Linked DNA regions of Homo sapiens: region 2 is linked to region 1. Evidence: promoter capture Hi-C in 16 types of primary human blood cells and fetal thymus (Javierre and others, 2016). All regions are on one chromosome and are shown on one strand. Each heading gives the region's core, a stretch centred on a gene start or on the middle of the fragment in contact. The rest is flanking DNA. Distances are from core to core; before and after follow the strand shown.

Region 1 (6,523 bases), core at 1,528-4,027:
TCAATCAAAGCTACCAGGGTATAGATTATTTAAAAGAAAAAAAAAAAAAGAAATAGGCCAGACACGGTGGCTCACGCCTGTAATTCCAACACTTTGGGAAGCTGAGGTGGGTGGATCACCTGAGGTCAGGAGTTTGAGACCAGCCTGGCCAACATGGCGAAACCCCATCTCTACTAAAAATACAAAAATTAGCCAGGCATGGTGGCACATGCCTATAATCCCAGGTACTCTGGAGGCAGAAGCAGGAGAATCACCTGAACCCGGGAGGCATGGGCTGCAGTGAGCCAGGATTGCGCCACTACACTCCAGCCTGGGTGACAGAGTGAGACTCCATCTCAAAAAACAAACAAACAAACAAACAAAAAAAACAGCTACTCAGGAGGCTGAGGCAGGAGAATCGCTGGAACCCAGGAGGTGGAGGTTGCAGTGAGCCAACATTGCGCCACTGCACTCCAGCCTGGCGACAGAGCGAGACTCCATCTCAAAAAAAAAAAAAAAAACAAAGCAAACAAACAAACAAAAAAAACAATGCTCTAGACTTTCTAGCATATTTGCTGATATAGCAGAGTAAACAGGATATTAACAAAAGCAAAGCAAGTCCCACAATGATTTCCAAACATCTTGTATGTGATACTAACCTGTACCTCTGAAAATCTCCATGCCGTAAACCATGCTGCTGCTGGGATTCCTTAATAATCTGAAGAACTAGAGTCGAGATTAAGGAAAATCTTACCATAGCAAGAATCCAAACAAATCAAAACCTGTACCATCAGTCTATATCTGTGTCAAACCACAACACATTAAACATTTGTGAAATATAGCCAGGTACGGTGGCTCATGCCTGTAATCCCAGCACTGTGGGAGGCCGAGGCGGGTGTATCACCTGAGGTCAGGAGTTCAAGACCAGCCTGGCCAGCATGGTGAAACCCCGTCTCTACTAAAAACACAAAAAATTAGCCGGGCGCAATGGCTAGCACCTGTAATCCCAGCTACTCGGGAGGCTGAGGCAGGAGAATCGCTTGAACTTGGAAGGCAGAGGTTGCAATGAGCCAAGACAGCGCCACTGCACTCCAGCCTAGGTGAGAGTGAGATTCAGTCACACATGCACATGCACACACACACACACACACACACACACACAAATTTGTGAAATATTTAGTACACTGGTGAGATCTTTTGTAACCATTTTCAATATCTATCTTGTCACAGGACAGGGCTAACCTACAGGAAAACTGATTGCCTGAACTGTTACTACTTGCAAACTGAAAAAGGAGGGCACTACTGGCCACTGGAAACTGCCAAAACCCAGTTTAAATTAAGCTGATGGATTCTAAATGCTGACTATAATTGGGGTGCTTCACACCAATTAACACCTAGACCCCACATTTTATTCATTCAGATTCAGGTTATAAATGACATGTACTAAGCCTCCATTTGCATAATCTCCAACACCTGCCAAATCTAACTTTCCTTAACAGCTGTGATGCTTAGAGAGTCTATGATTAGCACATGTCAACCAAGCTAGGCTACAGTTTGCATAAAAGTATTAAGGTTTTTCTTTCAAAAGAAGAATGGCCAGATTCTCCTTTTAATAATCTTAAAATATTTAAGATTATGTACTAATCTTTAGAAAGTCCAATGACCTTCATCTATATAGGTATAGTTTTAATGTTTCCTCAACACTTCTCTAGAGACATATTTTAAAATAGTGAACGCTAAAAGGACTCTTTAAATTACTAAAACGGGACAAAGAGATATAAAGGTCTCAGTAAAATCAGGGCTCGCTAGCGTCTACTTGGAACTATTACCAGTAATTCAAAATATTTAACTCCAAGCGCCTGAGAACTTTAAGCACATTAAGATGTCAAGTTGAATGTGTTATTTCAGAAACTCGCCTACGTTTTCTCCATTTGTTATTCATTTCAAAAGGTCACAAACTAGTACCACAAGCACTTGGTTGAGATACACACTGATGGAAACTAGAAACCGATTCCTCCAGCTTATATGAATGACTGTCAGCAAGATAAAATGCCTACAGACCGATCAGAAAAAAATGACACAATCGATATTAACTACGGTAACTTACAATCAAAATGGGCAACAAGCTTTTCCTGAGTCAATCTTTACCTCCACTTTCAAAGTATCGAGCTGTAGGTTTTACTACTCAGTCTATGACGACTGTCAGACAAGAGTATTAAGCCAAATGTCAAGACTGCAGTTTCCTCTCCCCAGTTCAGTGGCTCAAGGTGCCAAAGCAAGGTGCTCAAGGTGTCACTTGGTCACAAGCCCTCCAACTGGACAACTGCGGGGCACCAGGGGAAACCTGCCTGATATCCCAGTGCCACTGGAAGAAACGGACCTAGCCAGGACGGCGAGGGGGACACGAGGAAAGACTAGTCGAGAGACAGACCCCCCCCGGAATTCTGAGCACCAAAAGGTAAGGGCGAGAGAAACTGCAACCCTCGGCCTCTCCTGCCAGGACTTGTCGGGACCCGCCGCCTCTCCCGCCCCCAGCCCTCCAGTTCGACACGTAATCATTGCGAGTTAGGCCCGATTACTCTAGGATACTCTCCAAACTCAGGCTATCCCCAAATTCTTTGTTTGCCTTCGATCCGGCCGAAGGGCGTTCGTTTTCTTTATTTTCTTCCCCTCCGGCACCACGTCCACCGCCGCTACCGCCGCCGCCACTGCCACCGCCGCCGCCACTGCCGCCGCCGCCGCCGCCGCCTGGGACCTGCTTCTCAGCAGCCATCTTGCCCCTGCGCCGCAGAGCAAGACGGGATAGGGGAGGCGGGACGACCTGGGCGGGTGAGAGCTGGACCTGCCTGGCCGGGCTGATGGGATAGCGGCGGACTCCGCCGCCGTCGGCCCTTGCTGCAGCAGGGCGCCATGTGCTGGAGCGCGCCTGCGCGAGGGATCCTGTCATCCCGGGTCCGGAATTGTGGCTGGCTAGGTGGGGACTTGAGGCCGCAGTGAGACCGTGGCTGCTGAGATCTCAGGGGGCAGTCCCACCTCCCACCCACTAAGGGCGGAGAACCGGAGGTGGACCCCAGGTCCTGCATCCTGGACTGGGGATCTGGTTCACGTCCTGCCCAGCAGAAAGCAGGAGACCAAAGATACTGGATTTCGGGGTGTCTGCATCCCCAGGGACTCAAGAGATGGGGTCCTCCCTACCGGAACGGGACACCCCGTCCGTAAGGGACCCGCCTCTGCCTGCCCTTTCCTCTGAGGCTGGCCGTAAGAACGCCAAGCCGGAGGAAGCGCTGCGCAGTCAGCAGACGGTGTCCTAACGGGGTGACTTTCTCAGACCGCTTGGGGCCGTGGACCACTGCACTTTGGGGCCGTCAGTCCAAAGAGGGAGAAGTGTTGAGACATGGGAAAATATGAATTTTTGCTTTGCACCTTCTAGAGTCTGAGACCTGGGATTCCAATCCCCGCTCCGTCATTAGCGGCAGGGACATGTTGGGCACGTAACTTAATCTCCCTGTAAATCTGTTCCTTCATCTATGAAATGGGGATAACCAATTTAAGTGGTTGTTAGGAAGATTAAATGACGGATTTTTTTTTTTTTTTTAGATAGAGTTTCGCTCTTGTTGCCCAGGCTGGAGTGCAATGGTGTGATCTCGGCTCACTGCAACCTCTGCCTCCTGGGTTCAAGCCATTCTCCTGCCTCAGCCTCCCGAGTAGCTGGGATTACAGGCGCCTGCCACCACGTCCCGCTAATTTTTGTATTTTTAGTGGAGACGGGGTTTCACCATGTTGGTCAGGATGGTCTCGATCTCCTGACCTCGTGATCCGCCCGCCTCGGCCTCCCAAAGTGCTGGGATTACAGGCGTGAACCACCGCGCCCGGCCCTGAACTCTATTTTGAATTTCCTCAAGGTATACGGAATAAGGTCAGGAGAAAAAGAATAAGGATCTGATGCATTCAGATTTAACTAACTCTCCCATACATCTCATTCCTTTCTCAGCAGATCCCTCTTAGAAGGAAGTGTTACCATTTCCTTGTTACAGCTGAGGAAACTGAGGCATGGAGCCAAAGACAGAGCCTGACACAATAGATGCTCAGTATATTGGATTGAATTGGAGGGAAAACGTTCAATGGGTAAGAGAAGGGAAAAAGGTGGCCGGGCTCGGTGGCTTACGCCTGTAATCCCAGCACTTTGGGAGGCCGAGGTGGGCGGATCACTTGAGGTCAGGAGTTTGAGACCAGCTTGGCCAACATGGTGAAACCCCATTTCTACTAAAAATACGAAAATAAGCCAGGCGTGGTGGCAGGCGCCCGTCATCCCAGCTACTCGGGAGGCTGAGGCAGGAGGATCGCTTGAACCCGGGAGGCGGAGGTTGCAGTGAGCCGATATCATGCCACTACACTCCAGCCTGGGCGACAGAGTGAGACTCTGTCTCAACAAATACAAATACAAAAAACTAGCCAGACGTTGTGGCGGACGCCTGTAGTCCCAGCCCCTCAGAAGGCCGAGGCAGGAGAACCGTTTGAACCCGGGAGACGGAGGTTGCAGTGAGCCGAGATCGCGCCACTGCACTCTAGCCTGGGCGAAAGAGCCAGACTCCGGGGCCCCTCATCCGCCTCCGCCCCGCGTTTCCTCCCCCCGATCTCCCAGGGGTCCTCTTTTGAGGGCACCCCAGCCCCTCGACGGTCCCGGGATATCCTGCACCCCTGCCAGGCTGCAGGGAAGCGCCGAGGCGCGCGGAGTGCGAGGTCCGTGCTCCCTGCGGCGCGGCGCACACGCAGGGTCCGGGGTCGACCCCTCCACCGCTCCGGCGTCTGCCGGGGAAGTCAGTCCGCCTGGTCAGCCCAGAACCCCCGACTGCGGGGGCTGGAGCTCGGAAGCAGGTACAAGCGCCACTCTCCGCCTGCGCCGTGGAATGCGCGCCGGGACCACTCCGCAGCCCTTCCCCCAGCGCCGCCGGCCGCTGCTGGGGACAACCTCGCCCTCCTGTCTCTTGCTCCTCCTCCTGACCCCAGCGCACCCCCATCCCCGCCCCAGATGAGGCAAGGCTCCCTCCGCCTTCAGCCCGGCAGAGTCGCACTAGGAGTTGCAGCGGCCGCAGCCCCGGGAGCTTCCCGCTCGCGGAGACCCAGACGGCTGCAGGAGCCCGGGCAGCCTCGGGGTCAGCGGCACCATGAACGTCTCGGGCTGCCCAGGGGCCGGGAACGCGAGCCAGGCGGGCGGCGGGGGAGGCTGGCACCCCGAGGCGGTCATCGTGCCCCTGCTCTTCGCGCTCATCTTCCTCGTGGGCACCGTGGGCAACACGCTGGTGCTGGCGGTGCTGCTGCGCGGCGGCCAGGCGGTCAGCACTACCAACCTGTTCATCCTTAACCTGGGCGTGGCCGACCTGTGTTTCATCCTGTGCTGCGTGCCCTTCCAGGCCACCATCTACACCCTGGACGGCTGGGTGTTCGGCTCGCTGCTGTGCAAGGCGGTGCACTTCCTCATCTTCCTCACCATGCACGCCAGCAGCTTCACGCTGGCCGCCGTCTCCCTGGACAGGTGAGCCAGCGCCTTGGCCTCCCTGGGAGATGGGCATCCACGCGGGGGATGGAGCGGGAGGCGGGACTGGGGACCAAGAAGGGACGCGCAGAGTGGGACAGGACACTAAGAAGGCAGTGGAAGACAAGCGGGCGCGGAGGAGGAAAAAGAGGAATAAGAATGGGGGACCGTGGTGTCCCTCGGTTAGATGCGTCCTGGGGCCTGGAAGCCTGGAGAATGTGGCTCTCCAGCGCCGCCCGTGCCTGACAACGCGCAGCGTTTCCCAGTACGACGCGTTTGTGCGCGTTCATCTCGCTTGAGCTTAATGCCCTCCGTGAGGGTGGGATAGGACAAAGTGCCCAATATACAGAAGAGTTGAGTTCCTAAGTAACTCGCTCAGAGTCGCCAGCCAGGGATCGGGTGCGTGAAGTGACCGTCTGTCTCCTGCAGCCAACTTCAGGCGCCTCCACTGCGCTCGCCTCCAAGCCACGGTTTGGTTGGTTGGTGCAGCTGGCTCAGGTCCAGGCTGTGGATCTTGGGTCCTTTGCAAGGATCCACTCCGGAGTCCCAGCGAGCGTGCCTAAAGGTCCCTAGCTCAGTCCCAGCCCACTCTGCCTCTCGCCTCCAAACAAAACAAAACAAAATAAAATCCAAAACAAGTCGGGGCCGGGAGAGGAGCGTGCCCTGGGGTTCTTCCTCCCCAGCCAGAGGAGAGCGAGAGACGCACATTCGGGAGAGCGCGGGACTCAGGTGGAGCTTGAAAGGACACTGGGATGGTTCCTGGGGAGGAAATCCGGGTATTTCCCCTCTCCATCCTCTGGAAAAACAGAGAGGCGAGGCCAGACTGCCCCCACACCTCCTGTAGCCACTGAGCGCGAAGTGCGTTGGTTCCGAGCGCGCTGGTGGGATCCACAAAGCTCGCATTCTCTCAGGAATCCCCTGAGAAATTAACTGTCCCTTGCCCAACATGTCTTCTCCAGGCTGTCTGCTAGAGCCTCAGGCGCCTCCGCCCTCCCTCCCGCGGCACCGTCA
Region 2 (6,523 bases), core at 1,898-4,397, 350 kb after region 1:
TGCTAGTGCAGCGGCGCGATCTTGGCTCACTGCAAGCTCCACCTCCCAAGTTCACGCCGTTCTCCTGCCTCAGCCTCCTGAGTAGCTGGGACTACAGGCCCCCGCCACCATGCCCAGCTAATTTTTTTGTATTTTTAGTAGAGACGGGGTTTCACCATGTTAGCCAGGATGGTCTCGATCTCCTGACCTTGTGATCCGTCCGTCTCGGCCTCCCAAAGTGCTGGGATTACAGGCGTGAGCCACCGCGCCCGGCCTTTTTTTTTTTTTTTTTTGAGACAGAATTTAACTTTTGTTGCCCAGCCTGGAGTGCAATGGCACAACCTAGGCTCACTGCAACCTCTGTCTCCCAGGTTCAAGCGATTCTCCTGTCTCAGCCTCCCCAGTAGCTGGGATTACAAGTGTGAGCCACCACACTCTGCTAATTTTTTGTATTTTTGTAGAGACAGGGTTTCACCATATTGGCCAGGCTGGTCTCGAACTCCTGACCTCACGTGATTCGCCCACCTCAGCCTCCCAAAGTGCTGGGATTACAGGCGTGAACCACCGTGCCCAGCCCACTAGTATTTTTTATATTCGTTACATTCTGAAATGGTATCTTGGATATATACTGAGTTAAATAAAACATTAAAATTAATTTCTGGCTGAGTGAGGTGGCTCATGTCTGTAATTCCAGCACTTTGGGAAGCCAAGGTGGGAGGATTGCTTGAGGCCAGGAGTTCAAGACCAGCCTGGGCAACAGAGTAAGACCCTATCTCTACATAAAAAAATGGCAGCAGGATCCCTTAAGCCAGGTGTTTGAGGTTACAATGAGCTATGATCGAGCCACTGCACTCCAGCCCGGGCAACAGAGCAAGACTCCATCCACCTCTACCTCCAAAATTAATTTCACCTGTTTCTTTTTTTTTTTTTATTTTTTATTTTTTTTTTTTGAGACAGAGTCTCGCCCTCACCCTGTCACCCAGGCTGGAGTGCAGTGGCGCGATCTCAGCTCACTGCAAGCTCCGCCTCCCAGGTTCATGCCATTCTCCTGCCTCAGCCTCCCGAGTAGCTGGGACTACAGGCACCCGCCACCACGCCCAGCTAACTTTTTTGTATTTTTAGTAGAGACGGGATTTGACCATGTTAGCCAGGATGGTCTCGATCTCCTGACCTCGTGATCCACCCGTCTGGGCCTCCTGAAGTGCTGGGATTACAGGCGTGAGCCACCGCACCCGGTTCACCTGTTTCTTTTAATGTTTTTAAAATGTGGTCACTTCTCAAGGTCCTTTCGACAAAAAAAAAAAAAAAAAAAAAAAAAGTAAAAGAAAAAAATGTGGTCACTAAAAAATTTTAAAGGACCTACTTGGCTCATATTGTATTTTTTTAAATAATAGTTTAGCTTAATTGTATCAAAACAATGCATGCCTAAGTTAAAAAAAAAACATAGTACTAAAAGGCTTAACAAAAACAGGCAGTCCCCCATCTTACCCTCTCAACTGTGCTCTTTTGAAGCAAATACTTTTTAATTTTTTAGCTGTTTGAATATTTACCTCCATACATATAAACAACATGCTTGCACCCTAATTCCTAACTTATTATAGACATTATCTATTGACGTCCTGTTTTGGTACCTGATGACCTAACTCTTACCCTCCCCTCTGAAGCCCTTTGCCTGTACTCCATCCTTTCAACAGTTCCACTGCATTAATTGAAAAATCTAAATGTGTTATGATGGAGGACAGAGCTCACAGCTGAACCAAGTGGTGTTCCGTGTCCTCACACAACTATGTACATATTGATACTTTTGTCAAATACCTATCCATAACTTTTCTAAATATCTTCAAATTACCTACAAATTATCGATCAGGTATCTTTGGGCTTTGTGTCTTTTTCTTGTCGATCTCTCTCCCTCCTGCAGAATTCCATCCTGTCTCTCTAACTCAGACTTTCCTCTGCCGCTCACCTGTGTCAGATCCCGTTTCCTGGATCCTGGGAAAAGTCCCTGGTTTTGGTGAAGAACAACTCCTTCTATCTCCTCCCCACAAGAGGTTCACAGGAGGCACTTTTTTTCCAGCCCTTACATGCCTAAAAGGAGGGTCTCACTCTGTCACCTAGGCTGGAGTGTAGTGGTGTGATCATGGTTCACTGCAGCCTCAACCTCCTGGGCTCAAATGATCCTCTTACTTCAGCCTCCTGAGTAGCTGGGACTACAGATGCACAACACCACACTTGGCTAATTTTTGTATTTTTTTGTAGAGACAGGGTTTTGCCATGTTTCCCAGGCTGGTCTCGAACGGGGCTCAAGCGATCCTCCTGTCTTGGCTTCCCAAAGTGCTGGGATTACAGGCGTGAACCACCATGCCCAGCCAAAAGAACTTTTTTCTACTCTACTTGACGTAGTTGGGCTGGATACGGAATTCTCTCAGAATGTTGCAGGATTTGCTCTGCTGTCTTCCAGTCTGAGTACCTGTCTTAACTGGCACATATAATTGTTTACTTTCATTGTGATCCATGTGGATTTATTTCTACTACCTTTAGGGCTTTCTGGCTACCATATTTTTTCTTTGCTCTCTTTCTTTTAGACAAATGACCTAGTTTTAAAATTCCATATTTTTACCCTCTGTGAGTTTGAAAGCTTTAAACACTATTTCTATTCTTTTGGTGGTTACCCTTAAAATTGGAACATGTCTACTTGACTCAGAAAGTTTGAAGTCAATCAATATCCCTCCTACACTTCCCAAACAGTTCAAAGAACTTAAGAGTGTGTTCATTCAAATCACCCCCTCACTGATTTCCATTTTTTGTTGGGACTTTGGTTTTTAATCCTCTCCAAATTAGTGACGATCACTTTCAGAAGCGAATGCTTATTCAGATTTACCTGCACTTCCCAACGCCTCTGGATACCATTACTGTCCGCATTTCTCCTTTCTCCTTACTTCCTTCTTCCCGAAGTACAGCGAAGGTCTCTTAGTAAATACAACTTTTTTTTTTTTCTGTGAAAATGTCCTTATTTGTTCCCATTATTGAACGATAATTTAAGCTGGTTGCTGAAAACTAAGCCAACAACTGATTTTCCTTAGCACACTGAAGATTTTACTTCCTTATGGCCTCTACTGTTGCTACTTGGCATTTCCTGAGTTTCACTGTTGAACCTGGGGAGTAATCTGCCTTTCTTCTCAAGCTGCCTTTAGGATGCTATTTTTCCCACTGGGCCCTCATACCACCATCCATGTTTGTAATGTCTCTTCCTCACAAGCATCTCTTTTATCTCTGCAGAATTCTAACTAACTTCTGCAGATCTGTTTTCCAGTTCCCATAGTTCTCTCTTGAGAATTTATGCTATTTGCTGTTTAACATTTCCACTGGGGTTTTAACTCAATGTTTTCACTCTAGAGGCTTTATTTGATTCTTTAAAAAATAATCCCTTTTAAGATGTATTCTGTCTTATTCTTTCCTTTGACATCTATTTCTTCTTTTAGCCCTTCAATCACTTTAGACATTTCTATTATAATCTCTTCTATTATTTGAATTCTCATGTTGAGAATCTTGTGTTTGTTGTGATCGCTGACTCATGTTCTAATTTCTACATGCTTGGTAATTTCCTAGAACAAGCTCATCATCTGTGGGCATCCTAGGATTCCAAAAGGCCTGTACTGTGCAAGGGTCACTCTAGAAAAGTTCTGCCTTTGTTCTGCAAGCAAGAAGCTTCAGGGGTATCGCCAGTCTGCTGGCTGGTCTGGTGCCAGCTCGGGCATTCCTGCAACATGTAGATGTTATAAACACAGACTTAGAACTTGGATGTTTTCCACTGTTCACAGAAGACTTCCTCCAACACAATCCAGAGTGTGGGGCAATGATCAGCTCCCTTGACATTTCTCTGATCCCATGGGGGAAATTTTCTTGCATCCCTTTTACCTGGGAATGGCTCTTTTGAGGGGATTTCTGTTTCAACTCCATGCTTCACGTGTTCATGCAAATCCAAACCTCTATTATTGTTAGGGTCGATTTCAGGGTCCAATGAACCCACCTTGCCCCTCCCCAGAGCTGCCTACTCTGCTCTGGCTTTATATTCCTGCTTTGCTTTCGGTTCTCTGTTTTTCTTTCTTATTCTGTTGTTATAGCTTATATAGCATTTTAAGTGATTGTAATGGGAGCGGTTCTAACTTTAGCTCAAGCTACCATGTCACTGAAACAGGAAATCCACCCCATTGTCTTCTGGCTTCCAATGAGGTTGAAAAATCCAATCCATCTTCATTCCCAGTCTTTTGTATGTGACCCGTTTTTGCTCTTCGGAAGCTTTATGCCCAGTGCTCTGGAATCACACAATGTGCCACAGGACATTTTCCATTTACCATTTTTGAAACTTATGACTGTCCATTCTGAAATAATTCTTGTTTCTCTGATACATTATGGTCCTTAATTTTCCCTTTCTCTCTTTATAGACTTCCTAGATGTCAGACGTTTTTAATCTGTTTCCTGGGAGCCTTCGTCAACTTCAAAGAAAAAGTAATGGTTTTAATTTCCGAGAACTCTTTCTTGTTCTGATTTTTATAGTAACTTTTTATTTCATGGATAAAATATTGGCTCTTCTTTCTGAGTATATTTGCCATGTGCTTTAAGGCTTTCTCCTACCTGAATCAGCTCTGATTCCTCGGAGATACATTTTTCTCTTTGCTTTCTCTGGCCTCTACCTTCCATACTGGAAGCTTTCTGAACATATCCAGTTATTCTTGGCATCCATTCCTATTTAAAAGTGAGGCAATAAGAGATCTTTGTGGTGATGGAAGAGTTGTGTATCTTGACTGCTGTTACATGTGGTTACATGAATCCACAGATGTGATAAAGGGTGTGAAACTGTATGCACATATTGTGTACCCATGTCAATTCCCTGATTTTCATATTGTCTGTGATTATATAAGACATGACCATCAAGGGAAACTGCATGAAGGGTAGAGGGGACCCCTCTACTATTTTTTTTTTTTTTTTTGAGATGGAGTCTTGCTCTGTCGCCCAGGCTGGAGTGCAGTGGCATGATCTTGGTTCACTGCAACCTCTGCCTCCTGGGTTCAAGCAATTCTCCTGCCTCAGCCTCCCGAGTAGCTGGGATTACGGGCGCATGCCACCATGCCCGGCTAATTTTTGTATTTTTAGTAGAGACGGGGTTTAACCATGTTGGCCAGGCTGGTCTCGAACTCCTGACCTCGTGATCTGCCCGCCTCGGCCTCCCAAAGTGCTGGGATTACAGGCATGAGCCACCGCGTCCAGCCAGCCCTCTACTATGTTTGCAACTTCCTATGCATCTATAATTATTTCAAAATAAAAAGTTGGGCTGGGGATGGTGGCTCATGCCTGTGATCCCAGCACTTTGTGAGGCTGAGGTGGGCAGATCACTTGAGCTCAGGAGTTTGAAACCTGCCTAGGCAACATGGCAAAACCCCATCTTGACAAAAAACACACAAATTAGCCAGGAGTGGTGGCGCATGGCTGTAATCCCAGCTACTTGGGAGGCTGAGGTGGGAGAAGTGCTTCAGCCTGGGAGGCAGAGGTTGCAGTGAGCCAAGATTACACCACTGTACTCCAGCCTGGGTGACAGAGTGAGACTCTGTCTCAAAAAAAAAAAAAAAAAAAAAAAGTTAAAAAAGTTGAGGTGATAAAAAGATGATAGAAACCCTGTGAACATAAGCAAGGCTCTGGACAGGTGAGGACCACATTAGATGGAGTAGAAAGCTGGCCACTGCTGTGAGGAGCCACTACATACTGGCAATGGCAGGTCTTGTTGCTGACATGCTCATTTTTTCCAGACTGGAATCCAATGCCATGCCTCATGCCTGGCCTCAGCACTCCAGGAGCAGGCAGGGGCATGGCTGGGATTTGCTCTTTTAGTGTGCAGACGTTCATGAATCCCTCTTTCAGTCCAGCGTTACCCTGCCCCTTGCTCTGCCCAAGGTACCTCAATCTGGTGCATAAGCCTCTGCTCTCTCACTCGCCAGCAAAGGGGATTGAGTATTTTCTGGTTTGCAGAATTCAAAGAGATGACTTGGGAAGTTTCATCCCTCCCTATACAGACTGTCAACTAATCATAATCCCTCTGCTTTTAGGCCCAAACCTTATTCCCACCTTGAGTGCCACCAATTGCCTCCAATTCCTGATGCTTTCTAAAGTGCTTTTCCTTGGTGTTTTTCCGCAGGTACCAACATTTCAGCCTCTGCTCTGCTCAGTCTTCTGTTTGCCTTCCACCTTCTAGAAATTGGAGATCTTTTGTTATTGTTTTCTCTCCCATTCTGTGTCCTTGTGGGTTTATACATCTAAAAACAATTATTTTGCTGTTATTTTAGCAGAGTTTCTAGGGGAAGTAGATTTAAATGAATATGTTCAATCTACCATGTTTACCTAAAGTATGCTAACCGAAGATTTTTTTTTTCAATTTGAGAGCAGGTACTATTTATTAACTGACCAGATTAGAAAAATAATCACGGTAGACACCGCAGTTCATTCTTCTAAGAAGCCTGTGGATCTGGCCCTCCCTGTTGGCAGCAGCTCCATT

The links. The method cuts DNA at HindIII sites, captures the fragments that hold promoters and counts their contacts. A CHiCAGO score of 5 or more calls a contact.
Region 2: a contact is called between a fragment that was not itself captured here and the fragment with the promoter of SRP68 in region 1, in 3 of 17 cell types (M0 macrophages, naive CD8 T cells and M1 macrophages). The highest score is 5.5, in M0 macrophages.

Annotation. Positions count from the first base shown.
Region 1 is chr17:76,069,740-76,076,262 of GRCh38, forward strand. SRP68 (signal recognition particle 68) reads right to left here and starts at 2,778. Exons shown (of 16, transcript NM_014230.4): 1 at 2,569-2,778; 2 at 639-705. The coding sequence starts at 2,752. It overlaps GALR2 (galanin receptor 2), which reads left to right and starts at 5,042. Exons shown (of 2, transcript NM_003857.4): 1 at 5,042-5,512. The coding sequence starts at 5,145. RefSeq lists enhancers at 2,065-2,892, 2,891-2,940, 2,893-3,720, 5,107-5,988. The HindIII fragment of the contact is 7,541 bases long and covers 2,104-6,523 here.
Region 2 is chr17:76,423,954-76,430,476 of GRCh38, forward strand. The region is part of intron 1 of UBE2O (ubiquitin conjugating enzyme E2 O); the gene reads right to left. It also overlaps the pseudogene RPL7P49. Among named protein-coding and RNA genes, the nearest start is that of UBE2O, 26 kb to the right of the region's middle. The HindIII fragment of the contact is 1,070 bases long and covers 2,613-3,682 here.